Linked DNA regions of Homo sapiens: regions 2, 3, 4 and 5 are each linked to region 1. The links are contacts of gene promoters, found by promoter capture Hi-C in blood cells and fetal thymus (Javierre and others, 2016). All regions are on one chromosome and are shown on one strand. Each heading gives the region's core, a stretch centred on a gene start or on the middle of the fragment in contact. The rest is flanking DNA. Distances are from core to core; before and after follow the strand shown. Region 1 holds the start of DPH6 (diphthamine biosynthesis 6). Region 2 overlaps CDIN1 (CDAN1 interacting nuclease 1). Region 3 overlaps CDIN1 (CDAN1 interacting nuclease 1). Region 4 overlaps CDIN1 (CDAN1 interacting nuclease 1). Region 5 has its middle 23 kb from the start of CDIN1.

The links. The method cuts DNA at HindIII sites, captures the fragments that hold promoters and counts their contacts. A CHiCAGO score of 5 or more calls a contact.
Region 2: a contact is called between a fragment that was not itself captured here and the fragment with the promoter of DPH6 in region 1, in 1 of 17 cell types (fetal thymus). The highest score is 6.9, in fetal thymus.
Region 3: a fragment that was not itself captured here is called in contact with the fragment with the promoter of DPH6 in region 1 in 2 of 17 cell types (total CD4 T cells and activated CD4 T cells); the score reaches 6.1 in total CD4 T cells.
Region 4: a contact is called between a fragment that was not itself captured here and the fragment with the promoter of DPH6 in region 1, in 11 of 17 cell types (naive CD8 T cells, total CD8 T cells, naive CD4 T cells and 8 more). The highest score is 28.1, in naive CD8 T cells.
Region 5: a fragment that was not itself captured here is called in contact with the fragment with the promoter of DPH6 in region 1 in 1 of 17 cell types (activated CD4 T cells); the score reaches 5.3 in activated CD4 T cells.

Annotation. Positions count from the first base shown.
Region 1 is chr15:35,543,966-35,547,981 of GRCh38, reverse strand. It overlaps DPH6 (diphthamine biosynthesis 6), which reads left to right and starts at 1,817. Exons shown (of 9, transcript NM_080650.4): 1 at 1,817-1,863. The coding sequence starts at 1,841. It overlaps DPH6-DT (DPH6 divergent transcript), which reads right to left and starts at 1,787. Exons shown (of 3, transcript NR_038251.1): 1 at 1,509-1,787. RefSeq lists silencers at 1,345-1,394, 1,695-1,834 and an enhancer at 1,882-2,816. The HindIII fragment of the contact is 1,793 bases long and covers 1,254-3,046 here.
Region 2 is chr15:36,617,673-36,621,688 of GRCh38, reverse strand. The region is part of intron 1 of CDIN1 (CDAN1 interacting nuclease 1); the gene reads right to left. It also overlaps the pseudogene LARP4P. Among named protein-coding and RNA genes, the nearest start is that of CDIN1, 40 kb to the right of the region's middle. The HindIII fragment of the contact is 3,582 bases long and covers 373-3,954 here.
Region 3 is chr15:36,599,182-36,603,197 of GRCh38, reverse strand. The region is part of intron 1 of CDIN1 (CDAN1 interacting nuclease 1); the gene reads right to left. Among named protein-coding and RNA genes, the nearest start is that of CDIN1, 22 kb to the right of the region's middle. The HindIII fragment of the contact is 7,589 bases long and covers 1-4,016 here.
Region 4 is chr15:36,581,533-36,585,548 of GRCh38, reverse strand. The region is part of intron 1 of CDIN1 (CDAN1 interacting nuclease 1); the gene reads right to left. Among named protein-coding and RNA genes, the nearest start is that of CDIN1, 3.9 kb to the right of the region's middle. The HindIII fragment of the contact is 3,124 bases long and covers 387-3,510 here.
Region 5 is chr15:36,554,851-36,558,866 of GRCh38, reverse strand. No RefSeq gene overlaps it. Among named protein-coding and RNA genes, the nearest start is that of CDIN1, 23 kb to the left of the region's middle. The HindIII fragment of the contact is 1,737 bases long and covers 1,075-2,811 here.

The DNA of each region.
Region 1 (4,016 bases), core at 568-3,067:
TTTCCTCTCTAGGCTTTGGAGCCCACTTCCATGTGTCTCTACAGGGGAGCTTCTTCCTTTCTTCACCCTTCTTTCTTGCCTATTAAATTCTCCACCCCTTAAAACCACTCCATGTGTGTCTGTGTCATTTTACCCAATTCGGCATGAGACGAGAGCCCTGGTGCTTCTTCCACTCATTGGAGCTGTATCATTTTAAGTGTGTTTCACGTATTTATCTCCTCCAATTAGACTGCAAACTTCTTAAATACTTGACTCATTTGGTAAATATTCATAACTGCAAAATCTTAAAGCTGTATGATTCTAGACGCTAAAACTGATATGTAGACTGTCACTGCTCTAGTCACCCCTACTATTAGAGTTGAGAATGTCAAAATAAAATTGAATGCTTACTATGTACCTGGCATAATTTTAAGTTCCCTACATATATTAACTTACTTAATTCATGCCTTTGGCATCATCCCTCATGACTTTCTTTCTCTTGTATCCCATATCGAATTTGATTCTATTGGCTCTATCTTCAAAATAGAGCTGGAATCCTCTTACTTCTCACCAAATTCACCATGTTGATTCTAGGCTCCGCCATCTCTCTACTGGAACACTGTAACAGCTTCCTAATAGGTGGATTCTCAACACTGCAATCCTTTTAAAATTTTAAGTCACACCCTTCAAAAGTCTGCAATTACCTACAAGACCCTATATAATCCTTCCCCTCCATCACCTTAACCTGCTCTCCACTACTCTCTGCTTTGCTCAATCTGCTCCAGCAACACGGATCTGCCTTAATCTTCCACAAACACACAACGCACCTAGAGCCTTCGATTTTTTTTTCTTGTCTGGAGCACACCCCAATCATACACATAGCGAACTCTCCTTATTTAAATTGGCTCAACTCTCATCTTACCAATAAGGCCTACATAGACACGATTTAATTCTGCAATTTGCCTCTCCACCTCTCTCCTGACTCTCCCCCACCGCACCCCGCCCCTTTCCAATAGCACTTTTCACTCTTCAACAGACTATTTACCTTTAAGATATGTATTGTCTGTTCTCTCCATCCCCATTTAAGCTCTATGCCCGGAATGCCGGGTTTTTGTTTTATTTACGGTTGTATCCACAGAGTCTAAAACAGTGCCTGGTACACGAAAGGCACTCAATACATACTTGGCAAATAAACTTAGAAGCTAGATTTTCTTTCTGCAAGGCCATTGCTCTTTGGTGAAGAGCCTGGCCTGGCCTTGTCAAATACACAAGCTTGACCAAGAGCCAAAGCCACAGAGGGCCTAGAGGTGGGGGGGGCTAGCCCCAGATTTAAAAATTACCACAGCCCCTGGGGATCTGAGTTTCACATCTGGACACACAGGTTTGGAGGACAGAGGAGATGTAAGTTAAAAAGCAGAAGTGTACAGTTGTTTCTGTTCTGTGGGGTGAGGAAGGACAAATTTCTTCTGCGCTTGCACGTCCGCAACTGTGTCAATTTGCAGCAATTGGGACGCTAAATCCCCTCTTACCAAAACAAATCCTGCGCCACTGGGCTTGGGCTCTGCAACGCGGACCTTGCCCTTCCCCCGGCAGCTTCAGTGCCCTCACTTAGGTGGTTAGGCCGTGCCTAAACCTCATTCTTTCCTGGGCCGAGATGTCCCTGCCACAGGGTCAAGGTGCCAAGGTGCCGCACCCTCCGCGCTCAGGTGTCCCGCAGGCAGCCGCGGGGCTCGCAGCGCCGATCCGCGGACAGGCGGCGGAGCGAACACCCGGGCGAGGCCCCGCGGTGCGTCACGCGAGCTGCGGCGCGACCTCCTGGCTCCCGCCCGCGCTCGCCGCACGCACGCGCACTGCGCCCAGCATGAGGGTCGCGGCTCTGATCAGGTAATGCGGTCCTGGAGCCGCCTCCTTCCTCCTAGGCCAGGCTCTCGTCCCTTCCAGCCGCCGCTAGCGCCGAAAGAGTGGGTGTCTCCGTCTGAGTCGCGCGTTGGGGGTTCCGCGGCTCCTCCGAGCCACAGGAAGAGGCGGAGCCTTCGCTGTTGCCGGCCCGCATGTGCCTCGGCCCCTGGCTGGCGCGCCTCCTCCCTGTCTGTCGCTCTCTGGTCTTCTAGCCCTTAAACTTGGATTCCCATTGGATTCAAGTGGGAAATTAAAAAAAGTACCGACGCCTGGGCCCCACCGCCAGAGGGATTGGTTTAATTACTTCTGTGCGACCCGGCGTCTGATTTTTTTTTTTCAAGCTCTAATGAGCCGTGAAGTTTGGAGCCACTACCTTATTCCATCAACTCAGTTAATAACCCTCGCCCTTTCCCCCTCGCTTTCTTCGTCCTCTTCTGTAGTTCCTTTGGTCAGCTGGGTCCGCCGCAGCCTGGCTTCCTCCCTAGTTGTAAGTGTTTCCGCCCATCCCAAGAAGTCCACCCCTCCCTCATCTTCACAGATGTGGATTGCTTATGGCATGTGTGTGTTTCTGCCTTTGGGCACTCAAGTACAGAGATCTCTCTTCGTGGTAGAGACCGAATTGTACTAGTCTTATGCTAGATCCAGTTGCTGTTGCTTCGGACTCTCATCATTGCTTTAGAGTGACCTTACCCTATACTCCGTATTCCAAAAGGAGTTTGATGTCTGTAGTAACCAAATCATAAATTTAAGTGTCTAAATAAGTCCTGTGACTGACAAACCAAAAACAAACCTGCTTAAATATTTCCATACTCAATCTATAAACTGAGGCAGAAGGGAACACACTAGCAACATTAAAAAGTTAGACTACTTAAATACTTGTTTCATGAGATTTTGCCCTGTAGAGTGTCTTAGATACAGTGCAACGATGTGCTTGCTTTTGTAATCCAATTGAAGATTTCATAAACGTTTTCGTTAAGTCCCTTAGGTAATTGATACTGGCTGTAAGTTTTGACCTATTAAGGACTTGATATGAGATTTCAGACCTACTGTAGTGTCTGGAATATTCCGGTTCCCTTTCCTTCAATGTCATTTTTAGGAGACTAGACCATAATGTCACAATAATTATTGTTGTTCAGTAAATGTCCTCTGTAACATAAATGATTAAGCTTTAACCATTGTGTCTTATTTTAAGAATTAAAAGTACCCCAGGAAGTGAATAATTCAAATTTACATCGCTTGCCAAAAGTTTAACGATTAAAGTAAAGCACAACAAACAAAGACTTAGAAGTATTGGAGGGGAGGAGAGAAGATTGGTAGAGTCAGTTACACTAAATAACCTGTAATGTGCATATGTTGCTTTATAATAAAAAAAGTTTGCTAAAAAAGCAATGTTGGAAAATTCTTGCTGAAGCGTAAGAGCTGTAAGGACATATGCTGTAAGTATGAATACGTAAGCATTTACCTGTATGCTTATGATACAGATGCCTATGTATTCTATATATATGCATTATATATAATTATGTATTATAAGTGAATAAGTGAAACTGGGATTCTTACATATCTTTCTAAGAAGATTATTTTCCTTTTTTAAATTTTTTTTTTATTATACTTTAAGTTCTGGGTTACATGTGCAGAACGTGCAGTTTTTTTACATAGGTATACATGTGCCACGGTGGTTTGCTGCACCCATCAACCCATCACCTACATTAGGTATTTCTCCTAATGTTATCCCTCCCCTAACCCCCAAACCCCCACAGGCCCCAGTGTGTGATGTGCCCCTCCCTGTGTCCATATGCTCTCATAGAACATTATTTTTCTAATAAATAAATGAGTCTTTGAATTTTATAGTTGAATGTTATTTTGAGGATTATCCAGGCAGACCATTCATTAATTTGCAATGAAGTATGCAAACCTAAGCACATTGAATAACTTAGCTTAGTATCCCAGAGTTGGAAACTAAAATAGAGCTGTGAGACCTCTCACCTAACATACATGTGTACTTAATGGAGTTCTAAGAGGACAGTAAGGTACTCTGCATTTCCCAAGCTTGTCTGATATTCAAAACCTTTTGTTAGAGTAATTGGTTAGTATTTTGTTGGACACCAGTGTTCCACAGAACACAGTTTGGTAAATACTGC
Region 2 (4,016 bases), core at 914-3,413, 1.1 Mb before region 1:
AAAGGATGTTAACACTTAAAATGTTTATCATTTCCACCAACTGCATTATCTTAGTAAACCAAAATAAGCACTTTTATCATAGATGTAGTCAATGATTAATACATTTTTTTAAAGGACCTAAACTTCCCCCAAATTTCAGCACAGGTAGTTTCATTGTATGTTTCACCTAGTAGGTGATTTTTAAAAAATAGTGTATAGAAATGAATAGTTTCAAACTGAGTAAATATAGTATACCATGTCATAAAACAACCAAATCAAAAACAACTGCCATGCTAACAATAAGTCAAAGAAATAGTAATTCTGGCTTGTACAGATACGTGCAGTGTTTTCAAAGCTCTTAACAGTTAATCGCTAATACGTATCTCCAAAGCTTAACTTAGAGTTGGAAGGTGAATTTCACAGTAATGTAATTTTAACCACTATTTACATTCACTTTAATATATTACCAAGATGCTTACGCTATGTCACAATGGTGCTTTCCAGTATTCACAATTTACACGTAATTGTACACACATAATCTAACATATGGGACAGTTCTTACTATTACAAATTATCCCTTAAAAGAAAAATAAAACCCACCTTACATAGAACTCTAAACATGGTATGACTTAAAACAGATAAACACAACATGGCTTTTAATATTTTAGCCATTTTCTAAATAACAGCATGTAAACTTGTGTATTTAGTATATGAGAGCTACAACTTGATTCACTGAGAAATTATGCATTAATTTTCTTCAACCATCTTTCTCATCTTTACTAAAAAATCTCATGACTTGCTGGTTCTGTTTCAGTGAATTCCAAACTGTATTTTTTGGGTGTGGGGGAAGAAGAGGAGGAAAGGAAGGTGATAAATACACTGTAAACAGAAATAAGTCCCCCCCCAAAATTAAGCCTTTAAAAAAAAAATAATATTTTACTTCTACACTATTTAACACTTAAGAGTCAGTCACAATGTTTCATCTTTAACACTGACAGCAAATAAATTACTGTAAGGTCAGTCCGCCTTACCATCTTGGGACCTAAAATTCTCAATGTGTGAACAGAAGAGTAAATACTTCAATGTTCAATTCTGAAATTTAGAACAATTTATATGATTTGACTAGACTGGTCAAAGCAATGACAAATATAATTCAGTAAGTAGTTGGTTATTTTGCTTTTGGGGATGGGCAGTCAAAGAACAGAGAATAACATATGGAGTAAGAAAAAAAAATTGTTTCCCATTTTAGCAGGGGGAATCACAGGGAATTTTAAGACTCTGAAATATATTTCACCTACACACTGAGGTCCAAGATAATTTTCAATTTATTTTTATTTTTATTTTATTTTTATTTTTTTTGAGACAGAGTTTCGCTTTGTCGCCCAGGCTGGAGTGCGGTGGCGCCATCTCGGCTCACTGCAAGCTCCGCCCCCCGGTGTCACGCCATTCTCCTGCCTCAGCCTCCCGGGTAGCTGGGCCTACAGGCGCCCGCCACCACTCCCAGCTAATTTTTTGTATTTTTAGTAGAGACGGGGTTTCATCGTGTTAGCCAGGATGGTCTCGATCTCCTGACCTCGTGATCCGCCCACCTCGGCCTCCCAAAGTGCTGGGATTACAGGCGAGAGCCACCGCACCCGGCCGAAATTTTCAATGTTTTTAAGAAACCCCATTCTTTCCTTGAGTATCAAACTGATTAGTAGTCACATGTCCAAGTACAATCACAGTTTTACAACTTGTTGAAGGAAATATTAGTAAGGTCAAAAAGACAGACTCAATTTCAAACTAAAAAAAAAAAATCTACTCAAGTTTTACATTCAGTTTTCAAATCATTTACTAACATGACAACAGATTTTGCTTCAATCGCTCTTGTACACACTCACACCCACAACAGGCACCCCAGCCACTAATCCGCTTTGCAATACAAGGCCATATAATCAGAGATGGCATTCTCCACGCCAAACTTTAAATAGATTTTAAAAAGTAATTTCTAATTTTACAGAAATGCTTCTTCAAAAAATATTTCCTCTCACTCCCTCATCTCCTATACTGAAGGATGTATAATGTTGTTTTTTTTTTTCCTCCAAGCTGAAACTGAACCCTCAAAATTGATTCCTGGCAGCAAATCTCTGCAAATTAAAACCAAAAACAAAAATAGAAAAAATACACTTTATATGTGTGTGTGGATGGATGGATAGATAGATAGATAGATAGATAGATAGATAGATAGATAGATAGATAGAAATCCTCCAGCATTTATAAATCACATCAGAGATGAATTTTGGGATCCTATCACTCACAACTCCAAAATCCATAATGATTTAAGGATGTACTTTCTCCTGTTTCCTTCCTGGTTACCCTCTCCCCTCCAAAACAGTTCAATATAGCTACAGCTCAAGTTTAACGGGAAGAGAGAGAAGTTTTTGAATAGTTTTGTTGTTTTTTACTTTGGTGATCTGGGTGGCACATATTGCTCTTTGCCATTACGTCATGTCACTCCCTGAGGTATAGCCCTACGACTAAACTGGCATCTCTGTTCCCTGATTTTTCCAGCTGCTCCCCTGGGAATGGTATGGCCTCAGAAGCCAGAATAATCCTTACTAGCCCTTGCTTCTGGCTTCTCATTTGGTTTCTCAAGGGACTTCTAAGGAGCTTCATTGTCTTTGTTTGTCGTGGGAGACACTACATTGGAGCGAAGTTCCCATAGTGGCTACACAAGAACTGAAGATGGCTCTTTAGGGGGCTTCTGGCACACTTCAGCATAACTTAACTTTCAGGGTTCCTGTAGAGTCACGGTGTAGCTACATTTATGTTACGATTACATGGTGAGGCAGTACTTGCCCTCCATGGCTTTGTAGTACTTGGAGGAGAAACTGGTATAGTTGTCTGGTTGAGACCATCCTTCTGAACAGAGGAATCCTCTATTAGATCCTTTTTTTTTTTTTTTTTTTGGCTGAGTTGTGCTTAATGCAGTAGGCTCAGCTGCACATGGAGAACTGGTACTCATACTGAGTTGCTGGGCAGAAGTGCATTCTGTCTGCTCATCTGCAGGCACTGGGCAACTAACTCTCAACACTTCATTATCCTTTTCTTTGTAGACACCTTTAACAACATCAGACATCCTATTCTCCAAAATGAGTTTATCTGGGATTCTTGATGAACTTCCAGGTAAAGGTGGAAAATTTGAGGCTAGTAAGTCAAACTTTGGTGTTGGAGGCTTTGATTCAGCTGTTGAAGGATGAGGTCTTGAGATTGACATCTTGTCGTCATCTTCGACCTCTGAAAAGAGTTCTCCTGCCCCTACCATAGTCCCCATTTTGTTCCATCTGCAAAGTGGAAGTCTCCTTTTGAAGTTAAGTTTGCTCCTAATCCCCAGTTACTGTAGGATTATGCTTTCAGTTGAAAAATTTTTTGAACTAGATCTGTTCAATTGTCCATCCCCCAATGATACAGAGTCCTCTGTTGAGTGTTCTGAACCACTGGATGACCTAAAATGAGGCTTCAGGTTTTTTTTTGGAATGGTCGACCCATATTCATAGCAGTAGCATGTCTTTTATAAGATCCTGGTGAATTAATGCCATTCACAAAACTACCATTGGGAAAGCGGGCCAGTGGTGTTTCAAAGTAAGGTGTAGGATTTGGAGACCAAGACTGAGGAATAATACTATAGACCGAGAACTGCTGGTGAAGATTATATACAGGCTGCATAAAGACTGGGGAGGCATACTGTGCTTGAGTCTGAATGGGCTGACTATAGATACTAGAATCCATTAATTAGTAACAATTCTTAGCAAAAAATGTATTGATGGCTTTTATCCTTGCCATAATTGGCTTGCCCTGAAATGTTTTAACTTCTTCTCTTAAGGATTTAAAAGCCTTTTGTGTATCTGTGTCTGACTGGAAAGTGATATACCAGCTGCTACTGTGTGCAAACTCACAACTTATCACTTTGGGGCAGTTTTCAATTTGAACAAAGCTTTCACTTCCTCTATTGGTGTTGTTTCAGGAATCTCTCTAAGAATCACAATACAACGCTTATG
Region 3 (4,016 bases), core at 1,065-3,564, 1.1 Mb before region 1:
GCATAAAATAAGGGCTAATAGTTAAGGAAGGAGAGTCTGCACTTACTAAGTACAAGGATAAAGTAACAAAATAAACTTTTTCAGCTAAAAGAAGGAGCTAATTTACTCACATTATCTTTGGCCAAAGTAATAATCCCAGAGGAGTGTGATTTGTATATTTAGCACCAATGATGCTGCCATGGCTCAAAAACACAACTTACCTTTTTTTTTTTTTGAGACGGAGTCTCTGTCACCCAGGCTGGAGTGCAGAGGCATGATCTCGGCTCACTGCAAGCTCTGCCTCCCGCATTCACGCCGTTCTCCTGCCTAAGCCTCCCAAGTAGCTGGGACTACAGGTGCCTGCCACCACGCCTGGCTCATTTTTTGTATATATATTTTTTTTTAGTAGAGACGGGGTTTCACCGTGTTAGCTAGGATGGCTCGAGCCTCGATCTCCTGACCTCGTGATCTGCCCGCCTCGGCCTCCCAAAGTGCTGGGATTACAGGCGTGAGCCACTGCGCCCAGCCCAACTTATCTTTAAGAATCACTTTAGAACCACTTTACCAGTTACACAAGAAAACCAACTTCACAGTCACATCTCACATCTCACCAAAATACAGGGTGGCCACCACGTCTAGAAACACAGATAAATACAATAAAGGATTTATTGTTATTGAATTATAACACATGGCAAAATAATTATGTCTCTAGAATTTATGGTCACCTAGTAACATCAGCCCCCTTATTTTTCAAACTTAATAATGCCTTTTGTCTCCATTCTCAAAAGTACCAAAGACACTGTGTCACACACTCCAAAAATACTTGCCAAAAGAGAAGTCCCAAAAGTGTTTTTGCTATCATTACAATGTGTCCGCAGTAGGAAATAGTATTCATTATAGCACTTTTAAAACTGTGAGCCATTAATTTATAGTTGCAATACATGTGAGGGAAAATAAAAGTTTGGTTATTGGAGGACATTAGAAGAGTTAAGTAGAAGACAAGATGCAGGCGCTGATAGCCTGGCAGGCACAGGGCACACCACCAACCAAAACCATCAGCCCCTTCCACTGGAGTGGCTGGAAGCGTTCACGCTGAGCACATACGCTTAAGAATTCACAGTAAGTGAAATTCAAACTCTTTCCCTCTTACTGTTACATAATAATTTTTCAACACCCTAACAAGATTTTTCATGTCTTCCTAATCCCAATTAGGAATAATAGTAGCTTTATCACTATGAATACAAAAAAAAATTGAGAGCTGCTATCGATAAAACCCTGAGTGTTTTGGTGTATGGTGCAAGTTAATGATTCAGTGATGCTATGATCGTGTCAGGTTCATGACGAATTTTCAGAGAGCAGCCCAGAAAAGTCAATCAGCACTGCTGTCTATTTTTATGATGCTGGAGGCAGTACAATGGTAGAGCTCACTAGCACTGTGTGCCAGGCAGGACACGAGGATTTTACTCATACGGTTAGGAATTCCAGTCCCAGAGAAGGCCAAAAGCAAAGGTCTAATGTAGACAGTTAAGATAAAGCAGCTTAGCTTGAAGAGGAAGCTAAAAATGTTCTGCTTTGGAAACTGCCATATTTGTGACCTCATGGCAGACTGAGAAAACCAAAGAGCTCCAGAAATCACACAAGTAGTTAGTTCACTGGGGTTTTACAATGCCCTGTGGCTGCTCAGTTGTGAATCCCCTGAAAAAACAAGTTCATGAGGTTTAATAATAGGTGACAGATCACCTCAGTAGGTCGTTTTGCAAAAATATCCATGCCAAAGACCACAGAGGTACCTGTTGGACATGGTCAAGGGTGGTAAGTATTACACTAGTCTCCATCTGAATCATGTAAGCTACAAGCCTAAGACTACGAAAAGAAAATGGGGTATAGAAAAAGGACAAATCTCCAATCACAAATCTACCTTGATTCCAGCCACTAAAATTTCACATAAAGGTCCCTTTTCAGTCCAAGTTACCCCGTGCTGAAGGGTAGGACAGTTACACATCGTACCTAGTCTCAACCCCTAATGAAATCCCAGTTGGTAAAGTCATTCACATTCTAAAAGGGAACCAACTCCTCACACTGCAGAATGTTAGCACTGCACAATAATCCACAGTTAAGTAAACTCTGAAAGGAACCTTTTACTTTTTTTTTTTTGATACCCCTACTTGGGACATCAAAACACTGTAGCATTACTTCCTAAAAATAATAGAAATTATGTTGAATCACATGAAACAAATTTACTCTCACTCACGAATAAAAGTCAATCACTAACTTAGAATTAACCATTGAAATAGGAAAAATGACATAAAAATGGATTGAAAAGTCTATCTACAAATGTTAAGGTTAGCATTCATCTAGGATCCATTTCTTTTGTCCAGTTTTACATCAAAGTTTCATAAACTACTGAAAACTATACTTTGATGGAAAACATGCCTCCAATACTAGTTCTCCTGGTATAAATGGTCCCAGAATTTATGTCTTTGACATGTGGCCACGGATTTTCACACTGCCACCAAAGTATTCAGTTAATATACAAATTTCTACTAAACCAAGCCATAAACAAATCTTTAACTGAAAAGCTCTGTCTACTCGTTTATAATCTGTTACCTGGAAAAAAAGCAGAAGGTCTCTCTAGCCACCTAATCACCATATCAATGACACATGCCACAAGAGAGAAGCACTAGTTTATTTGATTGATCATGGTAGATAAACTCCAAATAACAGAGAAATTAACAAATGCTTGACATTTGCTCAACATCCATTATTCTGACACTGCTTTCAGAATTTCAAAGCCTGGGAGTATGCTTAATCAACATTCATATTCCCTCGTGAACTACAGGCACCATATTGCACCCCGCCTTCATACTGATGAAAACTGCATATTGGCCATTTCCAAAATGTTCTGGGACTCCACACAGGGCCCCTTTTCTCCCTTGTTCCTGCTCTGCAGTTTTCTTTTAAACACTTCCAAGACAAAAGCATCTGCCAGTTTTTCTCTCTAGGGATGTATGCAAAATGAACTTAACAGTTTTAAGGCAGGAGTAACCCTCACATCTAAATTCATTCATAGGACAGAAAAGGGCCTAAGAGGCCTCTCCAGGGACAAAACCCTGCTGAAATTCTCCCCACACACAACAGTGGGAGCTTTATAAAATCTAAGTCCAGACAATTTCCAATTCAAATGCCCAACATAGCATGACCTTTGTCAGATCTCTGAGCCCAAGATGCACCCATGATTTTTTATTCTAACCAGCACAGACATTAGACAGGGCACTATTGCTAAGCAGGAGGTTCAATATTTGCATGCTCTTCTATTGTGAAAATGTAACAGTGACAGCACTGTGTCAAATTCTTTTCCCTCTAGAACTTTAACTCCATAGGAGAGGCATGGCTGACAGATGACTCCCCAACATCTGTGTTATGTACACTGCACAGCTGAGGAGCCCTGGATCACTGTCAGAACATCGTGGAGCTGACCTGCACCTTTCTTATGCCTTCTTCTTATCCCTGCCCCAACCCACAAATATATAAATATCTATAATACAAATAGTGCAATTTTTAACAAAATATAAAGATGGCAAGACAGATTAACATAATTTAGTCATTAAGCTGTTCACGTAGCAGCTCAACATATGTTGTATAAATGTCCTATACCGAATAATTTATCAGATCTGACACAGTGCACATCATATTGTTTTATTTAATACACTTACTAAAATTTCATGGATCAAGCATCACTTCTTAAAGCACTGAGAAAGCACTAGAAAATATTTATTCACCTCCTGTGATTTATTTTGATTACCCTTACAGCTACATGATAAAGTGGAACTCACAAAATTACAAGGTTAAGGTTTACACAGCCATTGCTTCATATACTAAAATATAACAAATGGCTCCATGTCTGTGTTATATTTTACTTTCATTTAGTGTTAAGTAGAACAGTAGACTAAGCACTTAGCTGCCTACTGAATATTTTAATATTTTTAAATAGGACTTAAATATCTTGGCCCAGAGAGTGGGAGCTTAAGTAACAATTT
Region 4 (4,016 bases), core at 699-3,198, 1.0 Mb before region 1:
TTCCAGGGTACTCTTGCCAAAAGTGTTTACCCTCAATCTAACCATGAGAAAATAAACATCAAACACAAAGGAAAGGACATTCTATAAAATTGACCAGTACTCTTCAAAAGTGTCAAAATCATAAAAGACAAAGAAATAGTAAGAAACTGTCACAGATTGGAAATGACTTAAGACATTACAATTAAATCCAACGTGTGATCCTAGAAAAGGGACATCAGTGAAAAAACTAGCAAAGTTCAAAAAATGTGTCTGTAGATTAATGATATTGCATTAAAATTAACTTACTGATTTTGACAATCGTACCATGGTAATGTTAACATTAAGAGAAGCTGGGTGAAGGGTATATGAGAATTCTCTGTAATATTTCTGCAACTTTTCTGCAAGCTTAAAATTATCCCAAAAACTCTCCCAAAAGTAACAAATAATCAAATATATATGTAGTGTTTGGGCAGGAAATTATAATGTAAAATATAACCTTATAAGTAACAGCTGATTGGACCAGGGGCTTCTAAGAATGTCCACAAGAAAGATTAAAAAATGTCAATCAATAAATATGTCCTCAGCAAGTACTTCAAATGTAGTATGTCCTATGTTTCAGGTGCCAAAGGGCCCATTACAGAAAGTCTTCAAATAACGTTATTTTGTTCAACATTATTTTGTTATAAAGTTGATGAGTATTTTTAAAAATTGTTTCCTGGCTGGGGCCACTGTCTGTGTGGAGTTTGCATGTTCTCCTGACGTCTGCGTGAACTTTCTCCCAGTACTCTGGTTTCCTTCCACATCTCAATGATGTACGTGTCTGCAGAACTGGCATGTCTAAATAGCCCCAGTGTGAGTGAGTATGGGAGTGTGTGTGAGCGTGTCCCGTGCTGGGATGGCTTCATACCTTGCAGCCTGAGCTGCCAGAGGCCACTCAGAATCCTAAACTGGAATAAGCGGGTTGGTAAATAAATGAATGAATAAGTGAATAAATGAATGAATACAAATTACTGTAAAATAAAAATTCATAAATCTATGATAATCATACAAACGCATGACAATAAAGATGCAGTACACAAGTGCTCAGCAAGCTCACCACATTTGTTATTGTTTGCTTTTTGTTTTTTGTTTTTAGAGACAGAGTCTAACTGTTGTGGCTCAGGCTGGACTGCAGTGGCACGTTCCTAACTCACTGCAGCCTCAAACTCCCAGGCTTAAGCAATCTTCTCACCTTAGCATCCTGAGTTGCTGGAACTACAAGCATGTACCACCACACCTGGCTAATTTTTAAATTTTTTTGAAGAGACAGGGTCTCGCTCTGTTGAACAGGCTATTGTTTGCTTTTGAATACATGGTGGTAAGAGGTGCTTCTCACAAATTTCACTTTGCAAACACATACTCTTAGATTTAATCCACCACCACTATGACCACCATCACTCACTGATTCACCAAAAATTGGGTAAATAATTATCTTACTTGTTTAGGCTCACATTAATTTCAATGTTTAATATTAGATGTGTTTTGGGTCTTTATTTTATTTTTTATGGTTTTTTTGAGACGGAGTGTTGCTCTGTCACCCAGGCTGGAGTGCAGTGGCGCCATCTCAGCTCACTGCAAGCTCTGCCTCCCAGGTTCATGCCATTCTCCTGCCTCAGTCTCCTGAGTAGCTGGGACTACAGGCGCCCGCCACCGTGCCCAGCTAATTTTCTGTATTTTTAGTAGAGACGGGGTTTCACTGTGTTAGCCAGGATGGTCTCGATCTCCTGACCTCGTGATCTGCCCGCCTCAGCCTCCCAAAGTGCCGGGATTACAGGCTTGAGCCACAGTGCCCAGCCTTGGGTCTTTATTTAGAAGTTTGGTGATGTTATTATGACCAGAAATATGCTATAGGAACTTAATTCTTGTTTATAACAATTAGCATATGGTAAAATTGCTCTCATTATACATTGTTTCACTTAAAGTTGCAGTCTCCAAAGCCCTACCGAAGACATTAAATGATGACTTACTGTATGGTAAAACTGTAGAAACGAAAATAGAATGAGGGTGAATTTTGGAGTTGTAAGATATTACAGATCACAAAGTCCTACTCCTTCATTTTAAAGTGAAGGATTCTGAGACCACGTAAAACACAGTGACTTGAAAAAACATAATTTTGTAACTTCAGTCAAAACAAGCCATGAAGAAGTGAGGCTACCCCAGAAGTCACAGTAAGAGGAAAAATTAAGCTGGAGAAAAAATTAAGCTACATCTTCACCTCTCAGCATTTACTAAAATAAATTTCAGCCAGAAAGATTTAAAAATTAAGAATAAAAAACAAAGCCATAAAGAATCTAAAAGAAAATTTAGGTGAAATATTTTTTTCTTTCATATATTAGGACAGAAAAGAACTTCCTAAGTATAAAGGCAAAAATGTCAGAAAAAAAAAGCATACATTTAAAAGTTAACCATATCAAAAGCAGAACAATATTTAAAATCAAACAACTGAGAAAATTTATGCAACAAATATGACATATATAGGACCAGCATCCTGAACATATGCAGATCAATAAGTAATAAATCAATAAACAATAACAACAGACATGCCAACAGAAAATTAGGCAAAGGATACCAAACAGGTAATTCAAAGGAAAATTAAGTGGTCAAAAAAATTTGGAAAAAGGTACAACCTATAATAATTTTTAAAATGCTAACTACAAGATGTCATTCTTGATCGAACATATTAAAGATTAAATAATGACTCTTCTCAATACTGGAAAAGTTGCAGAGACAGAGACTCTCACGCTCTGCTAGTAAAAGGACTAGTACAATTTTTTTAAATTTGTCAGTATACATCAAAATCCTTGAAAACATAATTATGCTTTGATTTGAATTAGCTAGTGATTGTCTAAGTGTGGCTGTGGACTTGGAGTCCCTGAGACCCTCTCACAGGTCTACAGGGTCAACACGACTATTTTTATAAAAATAGCAAGATAGTATTTTCCTTTTGCGCTGTATTCACATTTGGACTTATGGTACAAAAACAATGGTGAGTAAAACTGCCAGCTCCTGAGCATAAAACAAGGCACAAATCATAGGCATCATAACTGTACTAGTAGTCACTGTATTCACTGCCACACACGTGCAGGAAAAACAAAACAAAACAAGACTTTCACTAAAGAATATTCTCTTATTAATTGCATTAAATCTCAACCCTTGAATACACAACCTTTTAACATTCTGTATGACTAGAGTAAATACAAAGCACATATACTTCATATCAAAGTATGATGGTTGCCTCCCAGGAAAGCACTTGTATGACTGTTTGAGAGCTGAACTAGCTACTTTTTCTAGGGAACACCATTTTTACTTGAATTAATGATAACAAAGTATATTATTCAGATTTAAGTATCTGGCAGACACTTTCTCAAAAATAAACAATGTGAGCCTGTCATTTCAAGGAAAACAACTAATAGCATTTGTTGCCAATGATAAAATTTGAGCTTTCAAGGGAAAATTCAAATACTGGAATGCTCATATCCATCACCACAAGCTTGACAGCTTCAAATCTTACAGACTTCTGATGAGATTAGAGATGATATTAACAAATGTAATTTTTTGATATTGTATAATGAAAGGTGACATTTGTAAGATCTGCACAACTCACAAGCAACATTTTACAAAGGAATAATGCACGATGATAACAAATCAGGCATGGGTAAAAGATCCATTCAAGTTCAAAATAGGCCAATGGATTGTAATGCAACAAGGTAACAATCACCTTGATGTGGTGATTCACCCACCTCAGCCTCAGGAGTAGCTGAGTAGCTGGGTCTAAAGGCACATGCCACCACACCCAGCTAATTTTTTGGATTTTTATTAGAGACGGGGTTTTGCTACGTTGCCCAGTCTGATCTGGAACTCCTGGCCTCAAGTGATCCTCCCATCTCGGCCTCCCAAAGCGCTGGGATTACAGGCGTGAGCCACCACACCCAGCCCTAAATAGCTCTTTAATCCCTTCTTTTGCGGATTAGTAGTTCAGCTCTCTCTAAATAAAGTTT
Region 5 (4,016 bases), core at 694-3,193, 1.0 Mb before region 1:
TTAGGATTCAAACGTTTGAAAAAGTGTTCCTTAGCTTTCACTTTAGAATACACACAGCTACCTGAACCTTTGAAAGATCCAGTTAGAAACCCAATCCCCTTTTTCCCATGAATGAAGAATACCTACCGATATAATGTGTATGAATTAATTTTTAAAAGTAGAGATTTGCAGAATGGTCATAAAGACTTCCACCAATTAAAAATTTTAAACTCAGGAAGATACTAGATTCAGAAAATTTCAAACGGAATTTGTTTGCTCATGCTTAATGAAAGGAGGGGAAATAAATCCGGATGTTCTCATTTCTTTGTATCTGTAATGTGACCTCCCTTTAAAACAAATTCATGCTTTCATAAGTCACATTGCATCTAAGTAATTTTGCTTTAGACACATTGTTTATTATGAAGAAATAGGTGTAGTACCTTTTTCCTCAAATTCCACTTTGTAAAAGAAAAATACTTCAGGTAAAAATTATATATTTAGTATTTATAAATCATTTTTCAGGTTTCCAGCTAATAGCCTACTCCAGAAAATGGCAAAACATACATAACAATGTGGATATTAGTAGTTTCTGATACCCAGTTCTGATTACAAATCACCATATTTACCTTTCTAAAAATTTCTTGCGATAACATGTGAATTTTGGAATAAAACATCTCACAAATCCAAAATTAGAAAAATTGTTTATATCAGTATATAGTAGGTATAAAGTGGATAGATTATAGCCCAAAATTTTAAATGAATTTTCTCTTGACTTAATATATAGAACTTTCTTAATGTATTAATTGGGTGTTTTTAAAATAAGCCATTATATTTATTTGCCTATGGAGGCTGATTAATATAGTGGTTGAGAGCTAGTAAACTGTTCAGAAAAAACAACCCTGATTTGTAGTATTTGCCAATTTCCACTATGTAAATACATAATATTTCCACCATAGCCAATTTCAGTCTGTGAACATGAAGTTACTGAACTTGAAGTTGGGAAAAGATGCAGGCAATTAGTTTTCAAGCTTGTAGGATTCAGCTCCTGCATACCACCTTTGAGATTCCAGGCTTAAAGTTGGCAAGACCTAAGCTTACCTTCTAGTTCTGCTACATACTAGATGTATGAATTTACTTAATCATTTTCATGCTCCAATTTTGCCAGATATAATATAAAAGCAGGATAATACTTGTACCTATCTGCAGTGAACAGATGAGATAATATCTGCAAAGGACTTAGCAGAGGACTTGGCATATAGAATGGGATTTTTATGTGTTAACTCCCCCATTCTCTGGCAACCACTAATTTACTTTCTGTTTCTATATATTTGCCTCCTCTGGGCATTGCATGTAAATGAACTTAAACAATATGTAACCTTCTGTGTCTGACTTTTTTCATTCAGCATAATGTTTTCAAGGTGCATCCATATTGTAGCCTGTATCATTACACACTCCTTTTCATCAATGAATAGTATTCTACTGTATGGATATATCACATTTTAAAAATCCGTGTATCAGTTGATGAACATTTGGTTTGTTTCCATTATTTGATTATTATGAACATATTGCTGAAAGACTTAATATTGTTTAAGATGGCAATACTACCCAAATCTATAGACTCAATGCAATCTATGTCTATATTAATTAAATCTATACATCTATAGTCAATTGATTGTTGACAATGGTGCCAAGACTATTCAATGTGAAAAAAATAGTCAAACTCATGTGCGAGTTTTTGTGCAAACATATGCTTTCAGTCCTTTTGGGTACATACATAAGATTGGAATTTTTCACTAGTAATGTATGCAGGTTCCAATTTCTTCATATCCTCACCAAGAGTTATTAATTCCTATTTGTAAAATTATAACCAATTTAGTGTATGTTTTATTAAGTGTATATTTTATTAAGTGTATGTTTTATTAGTGTATATTTCATTGTGGTTTTGATCTGCATTTCCCTAATGACTAATGATGTGGCTAACCTGTTCATGCATTTATTTGCCATTTGTATATCTTTTTTGGAGAAATAGCTGTTTGTCCAAAATATCCTTTGTCCAGTTTGTTGTTGTTGTTGTTGTTGTTGTTGTTGTTGTTGTTGTTGTTGTTTGGGATGGAGTTTCTCTCTTGTTGCCCAGGCTGGAGTGCGATGGCACAATCTCGGATCACTGTAACCTCCATCTCCCAGGTTAAGCGATTCTCCTGCCTCACTCTCCCAAGTAGCTGGGATTACAGGCGTGTGCCACCATGCCCAGCTAATTTTTTGTATTTAGTAGAGACGAGGATTCACCATGTTGGTCAGGCTGGTCTCAAACTTGAGCTCAGGTGATCCATCCACCTGCCTCCTAAAGTGCTGGGATTACAGGCGTGAGCCACCGCGCCTGGCTGTCTTTTTTCCAGTTTTTAATTAGATTGACTTTTCATTGTTCCTTTTTGTCTGTTTTTACTTCACTTGTTTTTAAATACTTTTGAGGAATTTTTATTGTTCTTTATATAAAATATATTCTGGGCATGAGAACTTTATCAGATATATGATTTATAAAAATGTTCTTTCACCTTGTGGATTATCTTTTCACTTTCTTGAGAGTGTCCTTTGATGCACAAACATTTTTAATTTTGATTAAGTCCAACTTATCTATATTGTTTTGTTGCTTATGTTTTGGTATCATAGTTAAGAAATATCACCCAGGCTGGGCACGGTGGCTCATGCCTGTAATCCCAGCACTTTGGGAGGCCAAGGTGGGAGGATCACCTGAGGAGCAAAACTCCGTCTCAAAAAAAAGAAAAATTGCCTGATCCAAGGTTATGAAGATTTACATCTATGTTTCCATAAGCTTTGTGTATTTGGTCAATTCTGAGATTAATTTTTATATGTGGTGTTAGGTATGGGGTCCAGTTATTTACATATGGACATCCAATTGTCCCAGTGGCATTTCTTAAAAAAACTATTTTTTCTTTATTGAATAGTCTTGGCACCATTGTCAAAAATTAATTGAGCTGGGTGCGCTGGCTCATGCCTGTAATCCCAGCACTTCGGGAGGCTGAGGCAGGTGGATCACTTGAGGCTGCTGTTCAAGACCAGCCTGGCCAACATGGTGAAACTCTGTCCCTATTAAAAATACAAAAATTAGCCAGGTGTGGTGGTGTGTGTCTGTAATCCCAGCTACTCAGGAGGCTGAGCTGGAGAATCACTTGAACCCAGGAGGCAGAGGTTGCAGTGAGCCAAGATGGTGCCACCGCACTCCAGCCTGGGCAACAGAGCGAGACTCCATCTCCAAAAAAAAAAAAAAAAATCAAATTGACTATAGATGTATAGATTGCATTAATACAGACACAGATTTCATTGAATCTACAGATTTCGGTAGTACTGCCATCCTAACAATATTAAGTCTTTCACTTAATGAATATAGCATGACCTTTTATTCATTTAGGTCTTTAATTTATTTTAACAATGTTTTGAAGTTTTCTTCACTTCCTTGGTTAAATTTACTTCTATTCAATTATTTTCGATGTTATTGTTAGTAAGTTGTTTTCGTAATTTCATTTTTGGATTGTTGCTGGCTAATGTATAAAAATATAACTTACTTTTGTGTATCAATCTTGTGCACTGGAACTTTATTGAACTTGTTTATTAGCGCTAATAGGTTTCATATTTTTTACTCCTTTAGGGCTTTCTATATCATTTCCCTTAATGATATGAATAGAAATGGCAAGAGTAGACATCCTTGTCTTTTTACTGATCTTAAGGAAAAAGCTTTCAGTCTTTAACCATTAAGTGTAATGTTAGTTGTGGGTTTTTCATAAATTACCTTCATCAGGCTGGGGAAGTTCCCTTCTATTCTTAGTTTGTTGAGTGTTTTTATCATGAAAGGGTATTAGATTTTATCGCATCCTTCTGTTTATGGAGATGCTCATGTGGGGTTTTCCCCCTTTTATTCTACTAATATGATGTATTACATCGATTAATTTTTTTCCTGTTGAACCAACTTTGCATTCCTGGGATAAACTGCTTATCATCTTGACAAGATTTAATTCATTTAA